2 separate regions of the Homo sapiens genome follow, and region 1 is linked to region 2. Evidence: promoter capture Hi-C in 16 types of primary human blood cells and fetal thymus (Javierre and others, 2016). All regions are on one chromosome and are shown on one strand. Each heading gives the region's core, a stretch centred on a gene start or on the middle of the fragment in contact. The rest is flanking DNA. Distances are from core to core; before and after follow the strand shown. Region 1 overlaps ENAH (ENAH actin regulator). Region 2 holds the start of ACBD3-AS1 (ACBD3 antisense RNA 1).

What was found. The method cuts DNA at HindIII sites, captures the fragments that hold promoters and counts their contacts. A CHiCAGO score of 5 or more calls a contact.
Region 1: a contact is called between a fragment that was not itself captured here and the fragment with the promoter of ACBD3-AS1 in region 2, in 1 of 17 cell types (neutrophils). The highest score is 6.7, in neutrophils.

Annotation. Positions count from the first base shown.
Region 1 is chr1:225,500,950-225,507,202 of GRCh38, reverse strand. It overlaps ENAH (ENAH actin regulator), which reads left to right. Exons shown (of 14, transcript NM_018212.6): 12 at 6,133-6,211. Among named protein-coding and RNA genes, the nearest start is that of LINC02765, 36 kb to the right of the region's middle. The HindIII fragment of the contact is 6,843 bases long and covers 497-6,253 here.
Region 2 is chr1:226,146,640-226,153,024 of GRCh38, reverse strand. ACBD3-AS1 (ACBD3 antisense RNA 1) reads right to left here and starts at 5,022. Exons shown (of 2, transcript NR_146443.1): 1 at 4,957-5,022. ACBD3 (acyl-CoA binding domain containing 3) reads left to right here. Exons shown (of 8, transcript NM_022735.4): 7 at 406-690; 8 at 6,204-6,385. The HindIII fragment of the contact is 12,330 bases long and covers 4,122-6,385 here.

The DNA of each region.
Region 1 (6,253 bases), core at 2,669-5,168, 640 kb after region 2:
CAAGTTAGAAAAGATAGTATCCAGAAACAAGGCTAGTTAATACTTGTTTCTACAAGTACATGTGGGCATATTTAGGCAAATTTGTTCTTCCTTTAGCTAGGCATACTTTATTTTCATGACTAAATTTATATCACAGCTCCTGAACATAGATGAAACCTTTTCTTGGTTTATGAGACAGTTTAAAGGACTTGTATTTTTCCCAGAAAAAAAAAAAGTATGTATTTAGAAACTAAAAGGTATTTTGTCTTTTCTTTCTGAGCTATTTGCCTTATTTTTGTCTCGTAAAAAGCAACTTGACTCTAATTATAGAAACCTAATAAAGATAAGTACAGGGATAGACTTTATATTATCACAGACCTGTTCTGTGTTAGTCTAAGTCTGAATTTGGATTTGGCTTCCTATGTGGTTCTTTCTGCTAGTAGGAAAGAAGATTTGGTAGTGACACAATTGTTTAAGCTCCACAAAGAAACTAGGCCTTTTGGAATGTATAAAAGCTTTTAGTTTCTAAGTGATTGAAAGATGATCATATTTTACTTTAGAAGAAAGGGGGAATTGCTTTTGGTGGACATGTGTTTTCAGTAGAGTAGAAAAATTGCACATTTATGTTTCTCAGACTCCTAACTGAGATGGCCTTCTAACACATCTCTACTAGTTACGGATTTTCTTCAGTAGCACATTATGAAGTGCTGATTTATTAAGCCCATAACAAGGAGCTGGCTAGGCGTGGTGGCTCATGCCTGTAATCCCAGCACTTTGGGAGGCTAAGGTGGGTAGATCACTTGAGGTCACGAATTTGAGACCAGCTTGGCTAACATGATGAAACCCCATCTCTACTAAAAATACAAAAATTAGCTGGGCATGGTGGCGCACACCTGCGATGCCAGCTACTTGGGAGGCTGAGACACAAGAATCACTTGAACCTGGGAGACGGAGGTTGCAGTGAGCTGATATCGCGCTATTGCACTCCAGTCTGCAGACCTGTCATGTGTCATTTGTCCTTTCTCTTCATCATGCTTCATTGATCTGCATTTCACAGTGAACTAAAAGCTAAGCCTACGTTGATGGCAGAAGTCATGTCTTAGAAGGGACATGGACGAGGTTCTCCAAATGGAATACATTCTTTGATGTATTTGGTCCATTTAGTAAAGGAAAAGTTGTTCTTTGAAAGATTTTTTTATTTTTCCTAATTCCAGGGTAGGGAAAAAAAGATTTTTTTTTCAGACTTGGAAATTTAATAAGTGCTCTAAAGGTCACCATTTTGAAAATAATTTTATATAGATGAGTTGAATCTTGATTCTTAATATCCAGTAGTGCACCATAATCATGTTCCAATTCTGTTAGGTGGTTTTCCTTCCCTTTCCCAAAATAGAAATTCTGGAACTCCTGATTATTTCCTGACCACTCATATATCTTTTGATAGATTTGATCCAACTACTGATATATAGGTTTTAAAATTTCACCAAAAGCTGTTTTAAACCATAAAGGATTTTTAAAATATGTTTAAAAGAGTAAGAACTATATTGCTTTTCTTCCTAAGTTATCTCTCCTGTTCCTTCGGAAAGCAAGTGTATTAAGTATGTCTTATCCTTGCATTGTAGTGAAGGTCCCCATTTCTCTTTGGAATAGCTTTGTCAAAATTACGTTAGTGGTAAGATGGATTAATGTCCCATAATATGCATGAGATATTGCATATTGCTGTATTTGTTAAGTGAATATGTCAGAGTAAAAGCAAGACTGTTTGGTTAAAAATGCTTTAAACTATGACTGGATTATAACGTTTGGGAAGTTGGTGCATTCATCTGTGGTTATTAAGACCTTACAGATCTTGTATTCAAGATGGGAAAACTAGTCCTTTACATGCCTCCTGAGAAGAGTTAATTTTGTATACTTTTATATACTTACTGTGCCTACAACCTATATAAAAAGTAGCCATTGTGTAATGATTTTTAAAATTTTCTGTAACTGGTATCTTCACATAACTAAAAGTAATCTTAAAATATCTTTTATTGGGGAAAAATTGGTTATTTTAAGGTTAATAGACTCAATTCTTGTTTTGTTTGCTATTAACAACCTATAAAACAGTAACATAATGAGAATTATTTTTTAAAGTTCTATTGTGTATCCCTTTCAATGGTTTTCCCCTTCATAGACGGGATTCTCCAAGGAAAAATCAGATTGTTTTTGACAACAGGTCCTATGATTCATTACACAGGTATCATCCTGCTGTGACGTTGTGATTTGAGACTTTTAAATAACATGTTCAGGATAGGGCTGAGCTTTTTCTACCTGGATTGGTAATCACCACAAGGGAGATTTTTTTTTCTTTATTTTGAATACCTTTTAAAAATTCTGCCATCACTTCACAGTTGGATTCAAGGATAAATACAAATGGTAAACATATTAGAAATACTAGACTGGGAATCTAAGGCCACATGTATTATCTAGGCCATTTGTAGCTTAAGCGTTTTCTTTTAAAGGCTGTTCGCCTTATGATTATAAGACAAGGTTTCAAAAAAGTTGAATAGAAGATCCTTTTCCATCTGTTACTGGAACATGGACTAATATTAAAGCCATGGTTGTGGATAATTGATTATTTGAGGAAAATCTCTGTTTCCTAGATACTTTGTAGTAAATTATCTTGGACAGTTTAACATCTAACACCCTGAGTAGATTGTTTTCTAGGATGAGCCCTATTATACCATTTTTTAATTAAGAAGACTTAAGAACTAGTTTTTTCTTAATTAAAAAAATTGACAGCTAAAAATAATCCTGCAATGCTTTTCAGTTACTTACACAATTAATTTGACAGAATAGGGACTTAAATATAGTAGTACAGTCATTTTATAGGCAGATGTTTAAAGGCAACGCTCTCATCATAAAAAAATAAAAACTGACCCAGCACCTGGTGGTTCACACCTATAGTTTCAGCACCTTGGGAGGCCAAGGCTGGAGGATCATTTGGGGCCCGGAGTTCAAGACCAGCCTGGGAAACATAGCGAGACCCCATCTTTACAAAAAATAAAAAAAAATTAGCTGGGCCTGGTGGCTTGTGCCTATAGTCTCAGCTACTCAGGAGGCTAAGACAGGAGGATATCTTGTGCATAGGAGTTAGAGGCTGCAGTGAGCCATGATAACACCACTGCACCCTAGCCTGGGTGACAGAGTGAGACCCTCTTTTAGGAAAAAAAAAAAAAAGTGAAATAAAAACCTGAGAAACCCTCATTTTGTGATCAATTATGATGAAAACCCATAGGTTAGAAATAACTGAAATATATTTATGTTATTTTACACATCTATTTTTTAAAAAAATATACATCAAGTTCACTGGGAATATGAATTAAGTGGTGTTCATAGTGGATGTCTATTGCAGTGAGTTGGGAGTTCTGTAAGCAGACTCTGGCCAAATTCTTACTTGCTAAAATTATTTTTATGCTATTAATGATCAAAATACTTGACAAGTTAATTTTGTCAGCCAGTTAAATCTTCACAAAATGTTTATATTCCAGTAGTGAAATAGTTTTGTGTTTTTTTTTTTTTTTTTTTTGAGGTGGTTTGTTTTGGCCAAAAGATTTCTTTAGAAAATTTGCTAGTACATAGAAAAGTAGCATTTAACAATGAGATTTTTAAGGCTGGGTGCCATGGCTCATGCCTATAATCCCAGCACTTTGGGAGGCCGAGGCAGGAGGATCACTTGAGTCCAGGAGTTTGAGACTAGCCTAGGCAATGTGGTTAAACCCTGTCTCTACAAAACATACAAAAATTAGCTGGGCATGGTTGCATGTGCCTGTGGGAGGCTGAGGTGGGAAGAAGACTTGAGGCCAGGAGGTCAAGGCTGCGGTGAGCTGAGATCATGCACACTGCAGCCTGGGTGACAGAATGAGACCCTGTGTCCAAAAATACATATATTTTTTAAATGTAGTAAATCTGCTCAGTTATCTTGCTGCTTTCACACATAGTACCCCCTGGGATAATGTTATTGATAAACTTTTTTGGTAAAAGTTAAGAAAAAAAGTGGTGATTACATCTTTCCTTCAGTATGAAAAGTTCCCCCCTTTAGTTAATTATCATGGTGGTGGTGGTGGTGATGGATTGCATGTTAGCATGAATTAAATTTTTAAAAATTTGCATGTTTCCACAATTGTTTATTACATAACAATAATTTTTGCATTGCCTAGTAAATATGGATATATTCATAACATACTTGCCCAATTAAATAGCAGGCTGTAGTTCATGTGAATTTCAGAGGTATTCATTATATAACTTGAGAAAATAACTAGCTAAATGGGCCACTTAAATGGGAAATGTAAAAGAAAAGCAGAGTATGAATTATAGTTTAATTCTAGAGAACAGGAATAGGTAGCATGAGTGAATATATGAAATAACATCCTAAACTTTAAGAATATTTGCCAGAAGTGACTCTGCATTTTATGGATCTAAGTAAATCTTAAGTGACCTTGGAATTTAGTAGTCTTCCCTAGCAAAGTAAGAAGGTGTAGCCTCACAAGAGGAAAGGAAATATTTCATATAAATATTATTCCCTACAGTGCCTAGCTCAGTGCTTATTGAATGAAATTTTCTGGAAGTTATTTTTCCCCCTATTCATATAAGCAGATACCTAATAAAGTAAAATTGGACGACTTGCTTCCTAACAGTCTTTTAAGCAGTAATACGTTTTGATAGTAAAGCAGATTAACAGGCTGGGCGTGGTGGCTCACACCTACACCCAGCAATTTGGGAGGCTGAAGTGGGCAAATCATGAAGTCAGGAGTTTGAGACCAGCCTGGCTAACATGGTGAAACCCCGTCTCTACTCAGAATACAAAAAAATTAGCCAGGCATTGTGGTGCACCTGTAATCCCAGCTACTCCAGAGGCTGAGGCAGGAAAATCACTTGAACCGGGGAGGCGGAGGTTGCAGTGAGCCAAGATCGCACCACTGCACTCCAGCCTGGGAGACACAGCAAGACTGCATCTCATAAACAGCAGCAACAACAACAACAAAAAGCAGATTAACTCAGTGTTTAATCTTCAGGAACCATGCCTATGGGTTTAAAGTATTTTATGTCTTATAAGAATTATAAATTATAACTTTGAAAAATTTATTATGCCTTTTGGGTCTTGCTTCAGATTGCTAACATTGGTACTCTGCAAAATTGGGAATATATGATTTGCCTGATGGTTTTAAATTGCATTTATTTGTGGCTCATAAAGGAGGGCATTTACTAGACTAAACCAGAACCCGGAGGAGTGCCCATTTAAAACTCTAGGTTTTCCACTGGGGACTCTTTTATTGCCGGACTTGGAGAGGGCGCCATGACTGGTTTATTTGGTGTTGAAACTTGTTTAAAATATACCTAATCATTGACTTATTAAGAATTATAATAGAAACTAAACTTTTGAAAGTGCAATAATAATTGACAATCTGCTTCTGTCTGGCATATCCTTTTTATTTAATAAAATAAATTTATGGAAGTAGTTAGCCTGAAACACACCATTCAAATGACGTCTCCATAAAAATTTCACAAGGAAATAGTCACATAGTCTAATCTAATAAACATTTTTAAAACATTTTTTATTTTGATGCTTGAAATGGAATAATATGTATAAAGCAAATCATGCTCACTAAAAATGTTTTCTTCCTGCAATCCAAGGCATCAGCTTTGTAAGCTGATTTATGTTAGTGTAAAACATTCAAGTCTTTATGTTTCTCCTTTCACTGGTTTGTCCAGGTATTTAAGTAGATAATGTAAAAGTTCAAAAGAAAGACAAAACAAGATTGTGTTATTTGAGCCTCAGATGTTTCAGCTGGCCTCTTCATCACTGTTTTGGTCAACGTGCCACGTTACCTGGTTACCTCATGCCCAAAGAATACTGTCTTCTACTCTTTTCTGAAGAAGTCTCACCATCTTGTCACCTTTTTCTAGTTCCTTTATAAATAAGAAATACTGAGAAAAGTGAAAAAATGTTGTTTTATGTTCTAATCAGCCCTACAATTTTGATAATTTTTTAAGAAAATGGCTTTTTTAAAGAAATGTATTTAAATCTGGTGTTGGGTTGGTAAATTTGCAATTATTTATGAACTCATTAAGTATTAAGAATGTTGTTTACCTGTCCTGGAAATCTCATTTATACAGACCAAAATCCACACCCTTATCACAGCCCAGTGCCAATGGAGTCCAGACGGAAGGACTTGACTATGACAGGCTGAAGCAGGTGGGTGCTCAGTGGCAGCTTTCCTTTATTTGTACTTGTTTC
Region 2 (6,385 bases), core at 3,773-6,272:
CAAAGTCCAGCTTTCTTTGTTCACATCCACAAGAGTAATTTATTCCTAAAGCCAGAATCTCTCTTCCTTGCTAGAATATTTCCCTCACTCCAGCTGGGGCCTTCCCAAGGTCATTCTTGAATCCCCATAGAGGGAGTGTTGAAAAAAATTCGTTTCTAAAATTGTGGGCTGCCATTGTTACTTGAAGAAGTACGATGACCTCTGAGTGCCTGCAACATTGTTAAACATAGTAATCTGGAGAGACTCCCATGGGGAGGCTTTTTTATTCCTCCAAGTCCTTGATCTAAGCTAGACCATATTGTACTTGGTGCCTGAGTACAACTGATCAGGTAGTGCTATGAAAATGTGGCTACCTGCAGGGTGAAGGCTCTTTTTCTTTAGCTTTTTAATACCTATTGCCTTTAGAATCTCTTCCAGTAATAGCAGCTCCATCCATGTGGACACGACCTCAGATCAAAGACTTCAAAGAGAAGATTCAGCAGGATGCAGATTCCGTGATTACAGTGGGCCGAGGAGAAGTGGTCACTGTTCGAGTACCCACCCATGAAGAAGGATCATATCTCTTTTGGGAATTTGCCACAGACAATTATGACATTGGGTTTGGGGTGTATTTTGAATGGACAGACTCTCCAAACACTGCTGTCAGCGTGCATGTCAGTGAGTCCAGCGATGACGACGAGGAGGAAGAAGGTAGAACCCTTGGTCCATATTCAGTAGCTGCTGGGTTGTGTGTTGGCAGAAATGGTACATAGTTCAGGTGTCACCCAGCCTTATGCTTCCTGACTAACACTTCATGGTTAGGGAACACTTTCTTCATTAGTGGGACCTTGGGCTGAAAATGTTATGAGGCCAGGCTCCTGTAGGGGACTGGGGCCTAAACCTGAATTTTTCTGAATGCCAGGAAAATCTATTTGGCAATTTGCTATTTTACTCCTTTCTGAATACTATTTTACTTCTAACCGTGTGTGTTGAAAAGCCAAATATGCAAGATTACTTCAAAAAAAATTTTTTTTTTTTTGAGACAGAGTCTCACTCTGTCACCCAGGCTGGAGTGCAGTGGCATGATCTCTGCTCACAGTAGTCTCGGCCTCTTAGGTTCAAGCGATTCTCCTGCCTCAGCCTCCTGAGTAGCTGGGATTACAGGCACGCACCACTGTGCCCGGCTAATTTTTTGTATTTTTAGTAGAGACGAGGTTTCACCATGTTGGTCAGGCTGGTCTCGAACTCCTGACCTTGTGATCCACCCGCCTCGGCCTCCCAAAGTGCTGGGATTACAGGCGTGAGCCACAGCACCCGACCCACTTTGAAAAATTTTAAAGGAGCAAGTAAGAATTCCTGTCAACCCTGGCATTTATTTAAATTTATATTGTTGATATTAGCATTTTAGGTCATTATTCTAAAATTTTTTATGTAAATACAGAAACTCACCAGAATAGTCCACTTAAAAAAATTTCAATTATTTTTCCATTTGGAAATCCCTATTTTGCTAGAGTGGAATTTTTTTACTTCCTCTGAATAAGTAGACAAAATTGGGTGTTTTAAAGGACAGTCTAAAATATCTTGGTCTAAGAAATAGGTTATAAATGTATTGCTTTTTGAGAAGAGGGTCTCTTTATTTTTGTTACCCAGGAAAGTTAGAATGTAGGGTTTGTTTATATACACTTAATAAGCACTTAATTTATTTGTTGACTTGATTGAAAGTGATATGGAATGCATGCCCTGTGAGAATGGAAAAGCACCATGTCTCAGTTCTTCCAGACTAACTGACCTTTCAGGTGGCTTGTAAACAGACTGCTTGTTCTTGAAGAGGGTTGGCAATGTTGCTTTACAGATTACAGTGGGATAAAGTTAAAAAGATATTATTGAAAGTACATGGAATAAGCCTGAAAGTTCTATCAACTTGTGAAGTACAGAGTTGTCCAATCATATTACCATACCATGCAACACCCTGGGGCCTCTGGGGCTATCTACAGAAACATACACTGCAGGTGTGCCATACATTTCTTGAAATTAAGTTTAATATTCAATTTAACAGTTAATATTTAATGCTAATCAAAAGATAATCCAAAGATAATTCCGTATCATTATCTACATGAACCATCAGAGTATCCCAGAAATTTCAGTACATCTTGCAGATTGACTTTTACCCCAGAAGCAGATTTAAAATCCTTCATTATACCACAGGTCCAGATTCTAGCTGGTAAATATGGAAGCATGAGCTGCTTTGTCTTACACGGCATTTTGTTTTCATCAGTCTTTATTCCTGAGTACCACCAGCAAGGCAAAGCATTGCTCATAAATAATACTGACTGAGACAGAAAGAAAAAATGTAAGATTGAAAAAGCCTGGGCCGGACGCGGTGGCTCACGCCTGTAATCCCAACACTTTGGGAGGCCGAGGTGGGTGGATCACAAGGTCAGGAGTTCGAGACCAGTCTGGCCAACATGGTGAAGCCCTGTCTCTACTAAAAATATAAAAATTAGCCGAGCGTGGTGGTGGGTGCCTGTAATCCCAGCTACTCGGGAGGCTGAGGCAGGAGAATCACTTGAACCTGGGAGGCAGAGGTTGCAGTGAGCCGAGATCACACCACTGCACTCCAGCCTGGGCAACAGAGCGAGACTCCGTCTCAAAAATAAAAAAAAGAAAAAGCCTGTCTGGGCATGGTATCTCATGACTGTAATCTCAGCTTTTGGGGAGGCCAAGTAAGGAAGATCTCTTGAGGCCAGAAGTTTAAGACCAGTCTGGGCAACCCGTTTTGTAGAGTGACACCACATCTCGACAAAAAAAATTTTTTTTTAGTTAGGTGGGTGTGGTGGCATGTACCTGTAGTCCCAGGTACATGGGAGGCTGAGGCAAGAGGATTGCTTGAGTCCAGGAATTCGAGGCTGTAGTGAGCTATATGATCACACCACTGCATTCCAGCCCGAGCGACAGAGCTAGGCCCTCCCTCTAAAAAAAAAAAAAAAAAATTAAAAAAAATAAAAAGCAGTTAGAGAGCAGGACTGTAGCAGATTAGCCAGGGGGCACTACTGTTTTCTCATGTGACCTTCAACAACATCAGAACCTGTTCTGTCCTTTCTGTTGCATCACAGGGACTCATTAAAGTCAGACTGTCTGCAGATGTCTGGGAAGGAAAGTTTTTTGTATGCATACAAATTACTGTACTTACAAAGAGCTTTGTGAGGCCAGGCACGGTGGCCCCTGCCTGTAATCTCAGCACTTTGGGAGGCCAAAGCGGATGGATTGCTAGAGCTCAGGAGTTCAAGACCAGCCTGGGCAACATGATGAAACCCTGTCTCTACCAAAAATACAAAAAACTAGCTGGGTGTGATGGTGTGCACCTGTAGTCCCAGCTACTTGGGAGGCTGAGGTGGGAAAATTGCTTGAGCCCAGGAGGTAGAGGTTGCAGTGAGCTGAGATCAAGTCACTTCACTCCAGCCTGGGCCACAGAGCCAGACCCCATCTCAAAAAAAAAAAAAAAAAAAAAAAAAAAAAGATGGCTGGGCGCAGTGGCTGACACCTGTAATCCCAGCACTTTGGGAGCCTGAGGTGGGTGAATCACCTGAGGTCAGGAGTTCAAGACCAGCCTGGCCAACATGGTGAAACCCCATCTCTACTAAAAGTACAAAAATTAGCCAGGCATGGTGGCACATGCCTGTAATCCCAGCTACTTGGGAGACTGAGGCAGGAGAATCGCTTGAACCCGGGAGGTGGAGATTGCAGTGAGCTGAGATCGTGCCATTGCACTCCAGCCTGGGCGACAGAGCCAGACTCCGTCTCAAAAAAAAAAAAAAATGAAAGAGCTTTGTGAATAAGAATTCTCTGTTCAGAAGTTGGTTGAGGTAATGTATTTCTCCTGGCTTGCCTATTAGAGAGCTTCTAAAAGGTGGTTACTGCCTAGTCTGAACCCTCAGCTGATGATAGTTTTGGGGTTATATTGGTGTTGGGAAGATCACTAGTGAAAATGGCAGGGGTTCATTTCTAGAGGTAAGAACCTTAATATCCTTGATCTTAGTTCTAATATGTCCCTCAAATGAAAGATGGCATTCCCTGTACTTGTACCATTCCTAATCATAAAATGATTTGCAGCTAAAACATTTTAGCCTCACAGCAGTGAAGCTTTATCATTCCTAAGAATTGTTCATTACATGAGCGTCACTTCATCCCATTTAAAGATTTAGCTCACAAATTGTATTTGTCCATATGCCTTAGAAGCTACTGTCCTACCGTGTCTTGTATTTCATATGGTAGAAGAGTCTGAGTTTTTTGGGTTTTGGTTTGGTTTTTCTTCCTTAGGTCTTGAAAGGTAGACAGAGGAGTTTGCTTTCTCTGAAGAAGCATGGATGGTAACACATCCTCCTGTTTTAATTCTCCATTTTCTTCATTGTTTACAGGTCCTAAACCTTGGCTTAAATTCATAAAAGATGCCTTTTCATCTATCCCAGTAATCTTTAGTTTTATAGATTTAAAACAAAATTTGAGTCTTGAATCAATGGACCAGTCTATTTCTTGGATGTCAACAATAGTGTACATTTTGGATGGTTCTGTATTTCTCATTTGCATGTGAAACATGCTTAATTATAGGTATTTCTGTGGTTAAGTAAATCTGGTTTTGACCTACCTTTATAAGAGTGCCATCTGCTTTTTTAAAATAAACTTTTAATTTTAGAATAGTTTTAGATTTACAGAAAAGTTACAAAGATAGCACAAAGAGTACCCATATACCCTGCACCAAGTTCCCTCTGTTGTTAGCATCTTACATTGTACTGTGGTGCACTCATCACAGCTAATGAAACAATATTGATACATTGATTCATTAATTAACTAAAGTCCATATTTATTCAGATGTTTTTAGTTTTTACCTAATGTTCCAAGATCCTTTCCAGGATGCCACATTATAGTCAGTCATCATATCTCCTTAATCTGCTATAGACGGTGAGAATTTCTCAAACTTACCTTGTTTTAAATTCCTGATAGTGGCCATTGACAAGCATCACTCAGTGTGTTGCCAGAATTCACTCTGCCATGTTATAAACCTGAAAATCCATGCCTGTAGTCCCAGTCTCTTAAACAAACAAACAAACAAAAACAACAACCATAAACCCGAAAGTCTTGTCTTCTGTGCTGAATACTCCCTTGACCTCTTTGAGCTGGTTTGTATTAAATATGTTAAACTGTGACTTCGAAGCTGGTTCATAATTTTCTCATTCCTGTAGGTTTCTAGAGGCATTTTTTTTCCTAACCTCATAGCATTACAGTTCAAAAAACTCTTAACCGGGGCAAACCTTTCAGAGCCCATTTTTTGCCACTTAGATCATCTCTGGGTTAAATTGGCCTAGTGAAAATAATTGAATTTTCAGAGTATCTCTGAATGCCTATCTCTCTACTATGATTTTTTCATTTTACTGCTTATATTTAAGATATACAGAAAGCAATAGTCCTCACAAATCATCTTCCATCTTTCTAAAATGGGGAGGACTCATATTGGTCAGAAGGAGGATGATGAGAGCAACATTTTCATGTTACTCAGATGAGTGAAATTCCTGAGGATGAATTAGGAATTGAATGGCTATGGAAAGGGGAAAATGGGACCTTGAAATAGGAATGGTAGTAAGCACAGAAAGAGATAGGATGCTGACCACTGCTACCACTAGATGTTCATCACTGGGCTCCCAGGGCTCAGAACAGGGTTTGGTGTATAGCACATACTTAGGTATTTGAATGAATGAGTGAATGAATGAATGAATGAACGAACTAATAAATGCTCACATGCACATAACTTGTTAAATGGTTCAACAGAATTCCCAACAAGAGCAGTTTCTCAAAGAAAGGATAGGCTGGGCACGGTGGCTCACGCCTGTAATCCCAGCACTTTGGGAGGCCGAGGCAGGTGGGTCACAAGGTCAGGAGATTGAGACAATCCTGGCCAACATGGTGAAAGTCCATGTCTACTAAAAATACAAAAATTACCTGGATGTAGTGGTGCACGCCTGTAATCCCAGCTACTTGGGAAGCTGAGGCAGGAGAATCGCTTGCACCCAGGAGGTGGAGGTTGCAATGAGCTGAGATCACGCCGCTGCACTCCATCCTGGGTGACAGAGCAAGACTCTGTCTCCAGAAAAAAAAGAAAGGATAGATTTTAATTGCCTGATGCAAGTGTGGTTTTCCTGAATCTGTTCATTGACTTGTCTCTGTTCTTACAGAAAACATCGGTTGTGAAGAGAAAGCCAAAAAGAATGCCAACAAGCCTTTGCTGGATGAGATTGTGCCTGTGTACCGACGGGACTGTCATGAGGAGGTGTATGCTGGCAGCCATCAATATCCAGGGAGAGGAGTCTATCTCCTCAAGTTTGACAACTCCTACTCTTTGTGGCGGTCAAAATCA